Regions from separate parts of the Homo sapiens genome. Here region 2 is linked to region 1. The links are contacts of gene promoters, found by promoter capture Hi-C in blood cells and fetal thymus (Javierre and others, 2016). All regions are on one chromosome and are shown on one strand. The core of a region is centred on a gene start or on the middle of the fragment in contact, and the rest is flanking DNA. Distances in the headings are between cores, read along the strand shown.

What was found. Contacts are between HindIII fragments. The CHiCAGO score rates a contact against its expected background, and 5 or more counts as called.
Region 2: a fragment that was not itself captured here is called in contact with the fragment with the promoter of CDNF in region 1 in 1 of 17 cell types (naive CD8 T cells); the score reaches 5.4 in naive CD8 T cells.

The regions. Positions count from the first base shown.
Region 1 is chr10:14,836,663-14,839,362 of GRCh38, reverse strand. It overlaps CDNF (cerebral dopamine neurotrophic factor), which reads left to right and starts at 1,326. Exons shown (of 4, transcript NM_001029954.3): 1 at 1,326-1,531. The coding sequence starts at 1,417. It overlaps HSPA14 (heat shock protein family A (Hsp70) member 14), which reads right to left and starts at 1,057. Exons shown (of 14, transcript NM_016299.4): 1 at 904-1,057. The coding sequence starts at 960. It overlaps MSANTD7 (Myb/SANT DNA binding domain containing 7), which reads right to left and starts at 1,057. Exons shown (of 5, transcript NM_001378785.1): 1 at 904-1,057. RefSeq lists an enhancer at 774-1,013 and a silencer at 1,164-1,273. The HindIII fragment of the contact is 8,843 bases long and covers 1-2,700 here.
Region 2 is chr10:14,186,338-14,189,037 of GRCh38, reverse strand. All of the region lies in intron 2 of FRMD4A (FERM domain containing 4A), which reads left to right. It overlaps LOC124902378 (a long non-coding RNA gene), which reads right to left. Exons shown (of 2, transcript XR_007062060.1): 2 at 2,576-2,700. Among named protein-coding and RNA genes, the nearest start is that of FRMD4A-AS3, 110 kb to the right of the region's middle. The HindIII fragment of the contact is 2,436 bases long and covers 85-2,520 here.

The DNA of each region.
Region 1 (2,700 bases), core at 77-2,576:
ACCTCACGTGATCCGCCTGCCTCGGCTTCCCAAAGTGCTGGGATTACAGGCGTAAGCCACCGCGCTGGGCCCCTTTCTTCCCATTTCTACAAATGAAGTAGTATTATTCCCTTTGGCTTTTCCTAACAAGTCATTTGACATTTAAACGCGGGACTAGTGGCAACGGAGTTCATGATTATCGTTTCTTCTGCCTCCCCACTGATGAGAGAAAGGCCACAAGTCCTGTCAGGCTCTCACTTCCAGAAAGGCCACCTCTGTAGACCACGCACCATCAACTGGCTTCACAGCCAGGCAGCTTTGCGGGACCATCAGCCCCAGCTCGACTGCAGCCTCCCCGCCCCTCCGGGACCTAGACGTTCGGGCCCAGCTCAGCGCGTTCTGCGGCCCTGCTGTCCCAGAGACCACCGCCTCCAAGTACCTCGCGGCCACAACTTTCCCAGGACCTCCCACCCGCGGGAATCCTGAGGCCCTGACGTCAGCGAGACCCCTTCCGGCATCCAGAGGCCAGGACGTCCCCGTGACCTCCCCCAAAATGCTCGCAGCCCCGCCGTCCCCGGGACCCCCCGGGACACCCAGCGGCCCCGCTGTCTCCGGGACCCCCCCGGGCACCCTGCAGCTACGTCGTCCCTGGGACCCCTCCGGGCATCCCGCCGCCATGACGCCCTGGGACCCCGCGCGTCTACATCGCCGCGAGCCTCCGCCGCGGAGTAGACGACTTTCCGGAGGAATCGCCAGGCGCGAGGCCGGGCCTGCCCGGCCCTTCGCTCCGGAGTGTCCTCGCGGCAACGCCACTCCACGACATCCCTAGGCCGGCGACACGCCGCTCTCAAGCCTGTGGATGACCCAGCGCCAGAAAACCGGGTGGCCGTCATGAAGCCCTAGCCCAGCTCCGCAGCCCCTCACCTTATAGACGGCCACACAGGCTGAGGTGCAGCCCAGGTGAACTCCGATGGCCGCCATGAGGCAGCAGGGACGGCAGCGGCAGGAATGAGGGGGTCCCCCAACAGCAACAGCTACCGGCCGCCCAACGGCCCCATCAGGCACCGCGGAGCTTCACGTTCCCGCCAGCCCCCTGCGTCCGGTCGGCCGCTACAGCCTCCCGCGTCGCCGCCAATCAGCGTGAAGGTTCCGCCTTTCTTCACGCGCAGTCCGCGAGTAGCTTCAGCGCGTCTCTGCGCTCCGCGGAAACTGCACAGTGCGCACGCGCAACCGGGGAGGGACGGGAAAAGGCTCCTACACTCCGCCCCCTTCCTATCCCTTCCTTGAGAGCCAATGGAAACTCTGTGTTCAGTTGCGTCATTTGTCCTGGCAACTACTGGCAGATTCTTTCCAACCTCGAATTCTGCTCAGCTCGCTTTGGCAGCTTGGTGGGCGGTGGGCGCGGGTGGCGGAGGCGATTGAAGCTGCTGGCCCAGCATGTGGTGCGCGAGCCCAGTTGCTGTGGTGGCCTTTTGCGCCGGGCTTTTGGTCTCTCACCCGGTGCTGACGCAGGGCCAGGAGGCCGGGGGGCGGCCAGGGGCCGACTGTGAAGGTGAGCGGTGTGACAACTGCTTGCATGGCGGCGGCCCCGCGCTGCGGCGCAGCAGCTGTCGGCTTTGGCTTCTCCTGGCCCTGGCTATAAATAACATTCCGCCCAGGAAATGCAGGCCCTGTCCCTCGTTTTAGATCGCCCAAGCCCAGCTCGAGTAAAAAGCTCAAGCCGGGCCTGGTGGTAACGTGAGGCCACGTTGTGGTTTTGCTGTGAATATTAAACTTCAGCAGTAAAAGCTGGTGGGTTTGTATTTGGATTAGAGTTTGTGCAAAGAATGCTAGATTCAGATGATACTGGCGCCAGATTGATTCTGCTGCTTCCAACCAGCAAGATTTGCCTCCCCTTGCACAGAAGACGTCTTTCAAGTCCAAGCTAGTTGGTGACTCCCCAAAGGAAAACAAAACATGGCATTGAGTTGAGTAGCTTAAATCAGAGGACATAGCTAATATTTGTTAGGACTCTGTAGGTGAAAATTGCTTTGCAAAGGAGTACACTGACTCCTTGGGAAAGAGAGGAATACAAAAGAGTGGTTCCTTTTTGTTCACGGTATCTCAGCTGTGAACTCGCAGTCAGAATACGTGAGTCTGTATCCCACCAAGTCCCCTAGCTCTGAGACTTTGGTTTTTGCAAAATCAGCGTACTTCACTTTAGAGATCTGTTAGCAAAGGCAAAGAAGGTAAGTGGCTATGCTAGCCCCTTCCTTCTGGACTCCTGTAGCGCTCACTCCATGTTTTACTGAAAATAATTAGTTTAAATGTATATGCCCTCAGCTGGAAAATATATCCCTAGTGAACAGGAAATTGTAGGTTCATCATATATGTTGAGTGAATGGATGGGTATAGTCGTACTAAAGTTGTGTTTTTGTTTGTTTTGTTGTTTTGTTTTTTGTTTTTGTTTTTGTTTTGAGACAGTCTCACTGTGTTGCCCAGGCCGGAGTACAGTGGCACAATCTTGGCTCACTGCAGCCTCCATCATCGGGTTCCAGCGATTCTCCTGCCTCAGCCTCCCAAGTAGCTGGTACTAAAGGCACCACCACCACGCCTGACTAATTTTTATATTTTTAATAGAGATGCAGTTTCACCATGTTGGCCAGACTGGTCTTGAACTCCTGGCCTCAGGTGATCGGCCCGCCTCAGCCTCCCAAAGTGCTGGGATTACAGGCGTGAGCC
Region 2 (2,700 bases), core at 53-2,552, 650 kb after region 1:
GATAACAGCACAAGGTAACTTAAGCTAAATGTCAAACAGGCAGTGAAGACAAACAGAGGTGAGCTGGGTTGCTCAGGGAAAGCTTCCCAGAAAGGAGTTGTTTTGGGCGGGATTTTGTTTGGTTTTGTTTTTGAGACAAAACCTCGCTCCGTTGCCCAGACTGGAGGTCAGTGCTGCAATCACCGCTCATTGCTGCCTTAACCTCCCAGGCTCAGGCGATCCTCCCACCCCAGCCTCCCAAGTTACTGGGACCACAGGCGCATGCCACTGGTGCTCAGCTAATTTTTTGATTTTTCGTAGGGACGGGGTCTCACTATGTTGCCCAGGTTTGTCTCAAACTCCTGGGCTTAAGTGAGCCTTCCACCTCAGCCTCTCAAAGTCTGAGCTACTGTGCGCAGCCAAGGAAAGGAGTTGATGAGGACTTTGAAGAAAGCTAATGTCTATTGAGGGCTTATTAAGTAATGGACATTGGGTCTTGGCCTGCTTTATCTCTTTGATTAAAGTTTGGATTCTGGAAAAGGACCTAAAGGTAGAAAGGTGGGACTGATTGAAGAGGGAATGATTGGATAATGAGTTTGGCAGGCGGGAGGCAAATAGGAAAGGAGACGGCACATGATTCTAAAAGCCAAAGTGAAGAGCTTGTATAATGAGAAGCTATTATACATTTTCAATAGGGAGTGCTATGTGCCCAATTGTAGGATTTCAGTGGGAAGCATTCAAGTCTGAGAAAAGCAACCAAACCACACAAAGAGCCCAGGCAGCAAGCAGGTCATGGGTCCTTGGCACAGGGGGAGAGGCAGGCGTCCAGAAAGGTTGACTTGAGAATCCAGTCATTTTTTATTTGATTCCAGGCATTTTGTGGAAAAGGTCCAGTAAGTAATGAAATAAGTCATTTTTACATGAAAAACAAAAGGCTGACCAGAAGAAAGATTAGCATCAAGGACAGCACCTGGAGAGTCTAAGGAAGGAGCTCCTTTGGGGGAAAGGAGGTTAGAGTTTTAAGTGTATTCAGCATGGAGAGGCTACAAGGAGGTGGAGATACCTTCCCAATAGGACACTAGAGATGGGAAAATTGTATTGTGGGAGCTGCCTGAATGCATTCCATCGTCATCTCCCGGGAAAACTGGGAACCCCACTGTCCCAAGGCCCATAAAGCTAATGGCATGTTTTATGTCTCTGTTTTACATCTTTATTTCCCCCTAGTGAAATATGGAATCAAAGAAAACCAAATTTCCCAAGTCTACTTCTAACCCCCAAAATAAATATTTTACCAAGTATTTATTGAGTTCCTTCTCTGTGACAGCATTCTGCTCATTGCTGCCTTAACCTCCCAGGCTCAGGCGATCCTCCCACCCCAGCCTCCCAAGTTGCTGGGACCACAGGCGCATGCCACTGGTGCTCAGCTTATTTTTTGATTTTTCGTAGGGACGGGGTCTCACTATGTTGCCCTCCCAGCCACTGTATCTGGCTGATCTTTTTCTATGTCAATTTGGGGGTAAATGGAGAAAGGCATGGGATATAGGTCGAAGCAAATGTCCATGGAGCGTTCTCTAAGTCAGTCATTCCACGATAATGGCTCTGTTCCTTTATTTACAAAGGACATATATAGCCAACAGTATGTTGAAAAAGAAAGAACATCAGATTAGCAAGGTTGAGGACTTCTGTAATCTTAGGAAAGTAACCGAACTCTCTGGGACTCAATTTACTTATCTGTGAAATGATGGACTAGTTGATACACAATTTGACTGTAATATCCTATGATCTGATATCATGGAGTTAGGCTCATAATGCCTTTAAGAAATCACATCATTGCTTTTATAGAATGCAAGCTGTTTCTTGTTATAAGGAAGAGTGTCGCCCTCCCTCCCTCCCTCCCTCCCTTCCTTCTTTCCTTCCTTCCTTCTTTCCTTCTTTCCTTTGAGACAGAGCCTTGCTCTGTCACCCAAACGAGAGTACAAAGGCATGATCACAACTCACTGCTTCCCCAAACTCCTGGGCTCAGGCAATCTTCTTGCCTTAACCTGATTAGTAGCTAGGAATGTGCACCGCCACACCTGACTAATTATGTTTTTTTTTTTTTGCAGAGACGAGGTCTCAGTATGTTGCCCAGGCTGGTCTCAAAACTCCTGGGCTCAAGCAGTCTTCCCTCCCTGGCCTCCCAAAGTGCTGTGATTATAGGCATGAACCACCATACTGGTCAGAGAAGGGTATTCCTTAAGGGTACAACTTGTGTCCAAGGCCACCCTGAACAGTCAAAGCTATGATCTTCTTTGCCAGTCTCCTGGGGATCCTGGGGCTGAGCGCAACATCTGCATCCTCAGAGGCTGATAACCCTCCCTTCTCTCATGAGGATATGAAGATAGGTAAGAAGGAAGAGGATGCATGGTCTAGTCCTTGGGTCACCTGAGACTGAACAGGAGAGAAGCAGGGTCCCTAGACCATCATGTTTGTCATGGAGCCAAAGGGTCACTGCCCAGTGTGCCAAGACTATGACACCAGGTTTGTGAGAAAAGCAAAGCTTTTATTGTTCCCAGGGAGACAGGAGTCCAGCTCAGATCTGTCTCCCTCTGCTGGCTTCAAGGGAGTAGTTTTATTAGAAGAGGTTTACGGGGTGGATTCTGGGATTAGTGGGTGATCGGTGGAAGGAAAGGGGAAACCTAGAAAGGTCTTGGCATGAGCAGTTATCTCTTCATGCCTCCT